Linked DNA regions of Homo sapiens: regions 1 and 2 are each linked to region 3. Evidence: promoter capture Hi-C in human tissues and cell types (Jung and others, 2019). All regions are on one chromosome and are shown on one strand. The core of a region is centred on a gene start or on the middle of the fragment in contact, and the rest is flanking DNA. Distances in the headings are between cores, read along the strand shown. Region 1 overlaps PCNT (pericentrin). Region 2 overlaps PCNT (pericentrin). Region 3 holds the start of S100B (S100 calcium binding protein B).

Region 1 (2,810 bases), core at 245-2,744, 200 kb after region 3:
CCTTAGGGAACACTGCAAGAAAAGACAATTATGCACCAACATCCCTCATGAACACAGATGCAAAAACCATTAACAAAATATTAGCAAATCAAATTCAGTAATATCTGTAACATATGAAAAGGGCAGTACATCACTACCAGGTATGGTTTATCCTAGAACCGCAAGGTTAGTTTAATCTCCAAGAAATAAATCACTCAATAAAGTTAACCTTATTAGTAGAATAAAAGAGAAAAATATCATCACTATTTCAATAGATCCAGAAAAAGCAAACTAGAAATATAACAGAACTTCCTTGATCTGATAAAAAGGCACCTGTGAAAAACCTAAAGCTAATATACTTAATGGCAAAACACTGACCACTTCCCTGTAAGACAAGGAGCTGGGCAAAGATGACTGCCCTAGCCAGTTTTAACTTTGTACTGGGAGTGCTAGACATTGTAATAAAAGAAGGAAATAACAAAAATTGGAAAGAAATAAAACTGTCTTTATCTGAAGATGATGTTATCTTATACATAAAAAGCCTTCAGGAATCCACAAAACGCTACTAATATACATAAATTGTGCAAGGTAACAGCAAGGTTAACATACAAAAGGTGTATGTGTATTCACGGTAAACAACTAGATAATTATTTTAAATCTCACTTACAATAGTGCAAAAAACCTAAAATATTTAAGGATAAATTTAACAAAAGACGTGAGACCTCTTTATTAAAACCTGTAGAATAAGGGAGAAGTAAATGGTAAAATTAAAGAAACATCACTAACCCCAGAGTTAGAATAAGCCACACAGGGAGGGAGGGCCCACATTGAGGATGAGGTGTTAGGATGGCTGGAGCCCCGGAGGACGGCAGTACAGAACAAGTGACAACAACCACGACCACGCCAGGGAGACGGGAGCTCCGTTTCCCCACAAGTGTAAAAGACGCTTCTAGAAGACAAACATCTTCACTGACATAAAATAGGGTAGAATACAGCAAATGTGGTTTCCTTGAAATAACTGGAAACCTAACAAGAGTCAAACCTTTAAATGGAATTTTACTTTTCTTTATTATATAAAGCAAAATAGCATCCGCATCTTTACAAAAAATTAGGAGAATTACAGAAAATGAAGGATGTACGAATTTGCACATATCTGTAAGAAAAATCCCACAAGAAAATATTGGGGATTGTCCTTAAAAAGCTTTCAATTCTTAATGGAACAAAAATACTGTCCTTAACATGTAAACTATTTTTTATATATTTTTCATTATATAAGATTATAGTTAGAGGTCAAGTTCTAGAGCACTATAGACAAATAATACAACTTCTTCTGAAAAGTAATCAATGGTTTTTAAAGGCATTCTTTTTTTTTTGAGACGAGTCTTGCTCTGTCGCCCAGGCTGCAGTGCAGTGGCGCAATCTCGGCTCACTGCCAACCTCCACCTTCTGGGTTCAAGTGATTCTTCTGCCTCAGCCTCCCAAGTAACCATTAGAGGCACCGGCCACCAGGCCCAGCTAACTTTTGTGTTTTTAGTAGAGACGGGGTTTCACCATGTTGGCCAGGCTGGTCTCGAACTCCTGAGCTCAAGTGATCTGCCCGCCTGGGCCTCCCAAAGTGCTGGGATTACAGGCGTGAGCCACCGCTCCTGGCCATAAAAGGCATTCTTCAATGTAACCCAAAAGGCTATTTTTAAATTTTTGCCAAATATACAAGATACAATCAGATACTAAGACAGATAACATCTCAGTAGCCTCTGTCAAAGGGAAATTAAAAGTGACAAACTGGAGACAAACTTCTCCTTACTTCTATGGTCCCCTCCAAAATTATTTTTTTTTAGGCAGGGTCCTGTTCTGTCATTACAGCTGGATTACAGTGGCATGATCACAGCTCACTGTGGCCTTGGCCTCCCAGGCTCAAGTGATCTTCCTATCTCATCCTTCAGAGTAGCTGGTACTATAGGTGTATGCCTGGCTAAATTTTTTAAAAAAATTTGTAGAGATGGGTCTCATTACGTTGTCCAGGCTGATCTCGAATTCCTGGGCTCAAACGATCCTCCCACCTCAGGTTCCCAAACTCCTGGGATTACAGGTGTGAGAGCCACTGTGCCCGGCCATAAAGTTAATTTTGTTTTTGAGACAGGGTCTTGCTTTGTTGCCCAGGCTGGAGTGCAGTGGCACAATCACAGCTCACTGCATCCTCCATCTCCTGGGTTCAAGTGATTCTCCTGCCTCAGTCTCCGGAGTGGTGTGTCACCATGCCTGGCTAATTTTTGTATTTTTAGTAGAGATGGGGTTTTCCCATGTTGTTTAGGCTGGTCTCGAACTCCTGAGCTCAAGTAACCCACCCTCCTCAGTCTCCCAAAGTGCTGAGAATACAGGCGTTTGAGCCACCGTGCCCAACTGATAAAATTAATTTTGAAAAGTATTATAAATATTGTATGAGGAAACAGAAGACTGTCATCCTGGAAAGCCAAGGCCCCAGTCAATCACACCCAGAAACTATGAGGACTTCGTACAGGAGACGCAGGCGTAGCCAGAAGCGTGAGAAGAGCCCCTTCTCCCCCAGCACCAGGGAGTGGCGTACCTCGCCGAGGTAAACCTGCGGTGCCTAGAGCTGCTCGTTCACACGCACTATCTCCTCTTCTTTGTTGGGCAGAAATGCCGGTGGAAATGGTAATAACAACAACCATATCAAAACAGAGCCGACAGAACCTTAATAGGGAAATATTCCACTGACCCTACAGATATGAAATGTCCTAATTAAATAAGCCTACAGTTTTAAATTGGAAAAATGGAAAATCAATTTGAAAATTTTTTTTGTTGTTATTGTT
Region 2 (2,700 bases), core at 133-2,632, 220 kb after region 3:
GGCCAGGGTGACGGGACCTGAGCACATCTCAGCCACCCTCCGAGACACTGTGGCCACAGTCTCCAATGAGGACCCCTCCTCAGCCTCCCAGTTCAGCCCTGGGCCCCTCTCCCTTCCTCCAGACACTCCCCTGGCAACTGTGTCCAGTCTGGGGCTCCCAGGCCATCTACAGGCTGAGACCCAGAGTTACCTCTGAACTCAAAACTTAGCAAAAAAGAATTTTTATTTTCATTTTTGAGATAGGGTCTTGCTCTGCACCCAGGCTGGAGTGCAGTGGTGCAACCACAACTCACGGCAGCCTCAGCCTCCCAGGATCAAGCAATCCTCCTGCCTCAGCCTCCTGAGGAGCTGGGACCGCAGACGCATGCCACCACGCCTGGCTAACTTAAAATGAGGTCTCGCTATGTTGCCCAGGCTGGCTGCTGGAGTCCAGGGCCATCTCCATGAGGCCGTCCACGGCCAGGCTGAGGCTCTGGAAGACCCTCCGGATGGGTTGCTCACACTCCCGTACACTTTCTGGGCTCATGAGAAAGCTTTCACACATGTGGCTGCTAATTTCAGCCACGGAAGACATCTCTGCACATTCAGACAAAGTTCTGTCCAACTCCGGGAGGGCCACATCAGACCACATCTCCTCCAGCGCCAGAGCTACAAGATGAGCTCGTGGGCTGAAGTAGGCTGAAGTGAACCTCCTACCTTAGCCTCCCAAAGTGCTGGGACTGCAGGAGTGAGCCGCTGTGCCTGGCTGAAAAAAAGATCTTTGATTGCTTTCCGTGTATTCCTACTTAATGTCTTTTTTAATTGTCTAAAATGTTCTAAAACGGTTACAAAAAATTTCCTTTCTTAGTGATAATCTCTAAATATGAAAACACTCCACATGGAATTGCAACAGTGCATGAAGTAAAGAAAATGGGCCTGTTTATTATCCAAATTAAACAAACAGATTCTCTCATTCGTAGCAAGCCCACTTCCTCAAAGATCTGGTTCAGAAAAGCCTCCTCCTTGGGGAGAAACCCGTGCGAGCGTCGTTGGCACCGGCATCCACCAGGCTCGTGTGGCATCATCAGCTACTCAGTTGTTCACATCTCCACAGGACCCCGGGAGCCTGGGCCTCACCTGCCTGCTGGAGTCCAGGGCCATCTCCATGAGGCCGTCCACGGCCAGGCTGAGGCTCTGGAAGACCCTCCGGATGGGCTGCTCACACTCCCGCACACTTTCTGGGCTCATGAGAAAGCTTTCACGCATGTGGCTGCTAATTTCAGCCACGGAAGACATCTCTGCACATTCAGACAAAGTTCTGTCCAACTCCGGGAGGGCCACATCAGACCATGTCTCCTCCAGCGCCGGAGCTACAAGATGAGCAGATGCCGGCACACGCGGCTCAGTGAGCAAGCCGGCCGCGGCCATGGCAGCCAAGACGACAAGGAAGCCACAGAACTCAGAACGTCGCCCCAGCCGAGATGAGTCAGCGCCACGTCCACGGGAGCTGACAAATTTAGCCCAAACCCCGGTCTCGGCCTTCTGTAAGTGCGGAAACTAGCAGGAAACCAGGACGGCAGTGCTCCCAAGGGCATCGCCCAATACGGAGGCTCCTCTCAGAGAGCTCCAGGACCACAGAGGGGCTGCAAGCACAGGGCTGGGCAGCTGGTCCCGGCACACTCACCTGTCGACAGGGCCAGGCCTGCGCCCGCGTCATCCAGGCAGAGCCCCACGCGCTCCCCGATCCGGCTCCTCAGGGTGACGGCTGCCCTCAGCGTCTCTCCAAACAAACCCAGCAGCCTGCGCAGGGCGTCCTGGAGGGCCCCTCTGAGACAGGAGACACCCATCATCAGGCAAGCTGGTCACGGCATAAGAACCCCCACCCTGGATGCTGCTGAGGGGCCGCCCACCAGTTTGCACACCTCGGCCCACGGCTGCCTGTCCCCACGGGGCCGGAAGACATGATCCTCATGCCCATGTGAGCACAGGAAGCTGAGGCCACAGACAAGACAACCACGTGGAGCCCACTCAGGGACACGGGCTTTCCTAGGTGAGGTCTTCCTGATGCCATTTCTGATGTGTAAAAGGCATCACATTAGGAACACGGCAAACCCGTCCCGCAGGTGTGCGATGTGGCCGCACAGCGTCAATCACCCGGGAGCAGCACACAGGCTCCGCCCCTCCCCTGGAGCACAGGGTGCACCAGCCAGCCATTTCACAAGATGTCTGTCCAACACCAAGTCACGCCTCAGCCACACATTCACAGGAGTTGTGTGGCAGGAAGAGGATGGTGTCTCCCAGCCTCTCGCTAGGCCTCGTGGACGTGCGGTCTGGGATGCTTCTGTCTTTTTTTTTTTTTGAGATGGAGTCTCGCTCTGTCGCCCAGGCTGGAGTGCAGTGGCACGATCTTGGCTCACTGCAAGCTCCACCTCCCGGGTTCACGCCTTTCTCCTGCCTCAGCCTCCCGAGTAGCTGGGACTACAGGCGTCTGTCACCACGCCCGGCTAATTTTTTGTATTTTTAGTAGAGATGGGGTTTCACCATGTTAGCCAGGATGGTCTCGATCTCCTGACCTCATGATCCACCCGCCTCAGCCTCCCAAAGTGCTGGGATTACAAGCGTGAGCCACTGCGCCCGGCTGGGATGCTTCTGTTTTTACACACAGGGGCTCCCGAGGCCACAGGCCCCTCCACATCTCGCTCCCTGCACTATGATTTAGGA
Region 3 (2,961 bases), core at 318-2,817:
CAGGGTGGACCCACGGCCCCACACTTGCCATCCCAGGAAGCTGCAGTGTGCAGAGGGCAGGCCCGGCTGGGCCCTCCTGCTGAACGCAGTGCCCTAAGCACAGGTGTACGGTCATTGCATGAGTGGATTTCAAACTATTTTTAACCCCTGCAGGAGCAGGCTAGAGCGTTTTCTATGGACACTGAAGGGTTAATCCAGAGCTCAGGCTGCCACTCTGGGGAAGTGGTCAGCACTTACAGGAATGGTCCCTCCAACATCTGAGCGAGGAAGGGGCACAGAGCACAGTTGTGCCTTCCTTGGGCCTGGGCAAGCTCTGTGCTTCACAGAGCAAGCCTGTGTCAGATCCTTCAGCAGAGACCACAGCCAGGGGTGGTGAAGCCGATGAGGAAGTGAGGGCCAACCACACTGCTCAGGCTGTTCCTCACAGGAGGCTGGGGCAGGCTGAGCCACGCAAGACCACAGCTCTCAGCCCTGTGCTATTTCCAGGGCACACTTACAGATCCTGAATGGTAGAGAACGTCCTGGATAAAACAATGACAGCAAGACAGCCATGTACACAGATATCTTGTGGGAAACCCTTTCACGGCCACTTTGAAACTGGGTTGGGAGAAGGACGTGATGCTGGGTCAGGCATCCATTGGGGACCATGGACATTTTTGGAGAGTTTGGGCCAATGTTCTTGTGTAATTTGTCAGAAGGAACACCTACTTCTTCATTCTTGTGAAGAAGAACCCATAAACTGGCCCCCGTGTTCAGAGGCTCCAGTCGAGCGAGTTGAGGGGACAGCTGGACTTCTCCTTCCTCAGGCTGGCTGGAGGCTTCAGCAAGGGGGCACACCGTCCACACGCCTCTGTAAAACAGCGTTCGAACGGGACATCTCTAAGGCATCGTCCAACTCTGAGAGTCTGTGACCTTCCACCCTGGGGTGGAGGGAAAGGCCTTGGGATACAGTCCACACATCACGTTTTCCCCTAAAAGTACCACCCGTTTTAGTCCCTGCAGACACTGGCCTCAGCAGCTTCTCTGAGGCAGCCCCGTTGAGCCCAGGGCTGACCACAGACAAGCACTACTGTCCACAGAACTTCACGCCCAGTGGGGCCAGACTTGGAGGATGGCAGAGGAGAGAAGCTCCAGGGGCCTCTCCATTAGAAACCAACTTGCAGGCCACTTAATCTCCTATGCTCAGCCTGTACTTGGAAGCTGCTTGTTCTTGGCTGCACATTTGCTTTGTTTGAATCAATTAATCCAAGTCTCTCTCCTCTCCCCACCCCCAACCTTGCCTTTAGGGTGACATCAATATTCATGTAATAAAGAAATCGCACAAAAAGCTGACTCCCCACTTCCTGCCCTACAGGCCCTTTTTTCTTCCTCAGCCCATGTGCAATCCTGGCTCCCAGCAAGTCCCCGGGGCTGCTTGGTCAATGCAGCCCTGTGTGCAGGCCTGGCAGCCCTGCCACCCCCGCCTTCGGCTCCCATTGGCTGCCACGGCCTGCAGTGGGCTGCACCAGGGTTCATCCATCCTCCCTGGGCAGAGGGAATAAGAGGCTGCCTCTGCCCACCAGTCCTGCCGCCCAGGACCCGCAGCAGAGACGACGCCTGCAGCAAGGAGACCAGGAAGGGGTGAGACAAGGAAGAGGTGAGAAAGAGCCAGGCCAAGAGGACGCTCAGGAAGAAATGGTTCTTTTCTTTTGGGTGGAACGGAATGGAGGGGTAGAAACTAAGTGGTAGCTTAAAAAGCCCCTTTAGGACAATTGGCAGCATTTCAGAAGTGTCAATAGGATGATGTGTTTTAATCTCCACATTACTGCTGCTTTGTGGACACCTGACTGCATCAGCCCTAGACAGCTAGAGGTGTGTTTTGCCATAAATCAGAGAAACGTCAGGTTTCATGGCCCAGAAGTGATTGTTGACATTTTCCCAGCGGTACTACAAATACTGCCTCTTCTGTAACTATTTGAAGAGTAAAGATTTTGCTTCCCACTGGGGCTAAAAATGATGGAGAACCTAATGCTAGTTTAGTCCTATATCATAAATAAATGCTTCCCTTTTCTCCTTATATTTCTTCCACCGCCCTGGGTAAGTAACTCTTCAGTTTTCCAGTTTCCCTCAGTTTGAAGTGCCAGGGTCCCCACAGCCCCAGGACGCCACTCAGAAATTACGTAACAATTACAAATAAATTGGGTCAAAGAAATCGGGGTTTTGGTGGGTTTTAACTTTCCTCAGTCTCACAGTTTCTCAGGGAGGTCGAACCCCTTCTTTAGAGGGATCCTCACACGCTAGGTAACTTGTCTTTCTAAGGAGTTAAAGTTCAAAAGTTCTCTTGTTCTCAATATTAAAAGATTAATGTAGGACATTCAAAGAATGTGAGAAAGAAACGGACATTTATTTCCATTTCTCTTAAAAGATAAACTATAAACCATCAACTATTTCTTAGGTCAAAGGGAAAAATTTAACAAGAATTTAATTGATTTGTAGTGTGGTTATGAAGAAAACCATATTTTCTAGTGGTTTCTATTAGTGTTCTAATATATGGGATACATGTTTTATGCCTTTCCTTTGTAATAATCCCATTAGTCACAATTCATAGAAAAACAATTTAACCTCCTTTTCCCCAAATCATCATGGACTTTGAGGAGCATCAGAATGATGTAAAAGTGTCTTGTTTTGTTTAAAAAAATACACACACATACAAACATGCATATATCAATAATTGAAAACTTGAGTGCAAAGAATAAGAAAGCATGAAATGTTAAAGATTTTAATCCATCTTAATTGTTCTATTTGTGAATTATCAAATTTTTAGGGACTCAAGAGCAAAATAAAGTACACTGATTATTAATAGAATGACTTTAGCAAAGATCTGGCCAGTATAAAAAAATCTTCAATCCTGTTTCCTTCGGAGGATCAGAAATAAATAAAATAATTCCAAATTATTTTTAAGATGTAAGTTATATATTCAAC

The links. The method cuts DNA at HindIII sites, captures the fragments that hold promoters and counts their contacts. A contact is called where the count stands out against the background at its distance.
Region 1: a contact is called between a fragment that was not itself captured here and the fragment with the promoter of S100B in region 3, in 2 of the 25 tissues and cell types used here (dorsolateral prefrontal cortex and lymphoblastoid cells).
Region 2: a fragment that was not itself captured here is called in contact with the fragment with the promoter of S100B in region 3 in 2 of the 25 tissues and cell types used here (dorsolateral prefrontal cortex and mesenchymal stem cells).

What each region holds. Positions count from the first base shown.
Region 1 is chr21:46,404,237-46,407,046 of GRCh38, reverse strand. The region is part of intron 27 of PCNT (pericentrin); the gene reads right to left. Among named protein-coding and RNA genes, the nearest start is that of DIP2A, 53 kb to the left of the region's middle. RefSeq lists an enhancer at 2,581-2,810. The HindIII fragment of the contact is 7,053 bases long and covers 1-2,810 here.
Region 2 is chr21:46,387,848-46,390,547 of GRCh38, reverse strand. It overlaps PCNT (pericentrin), which reads right to left. Exons shown (of 47, transcript NM_006031.6): 18 at 1,664-1,806; 19 at 1,117-1,349. Among named protein-coding and RNA genes, the nearest start is that of PCNT, 65 kb to the right of the region's middle. The HindIII fragment of the contact is 3,209 bases long and covers 1-2,700 here.
Region 3 is chr21:46,603,688-46,606,648 of GRCh38, reverse strand. S100B (S100 calcium binding protein B) reads left to right here and starts at 1,567. Exons shown (of 3, transcript NM_006272.3): 1 at 1,567-1,636. RefSeq lists an enhancer at 28-529. The HindIII fragment of the contact is 5,448 bases long and covers 1-2,961 here.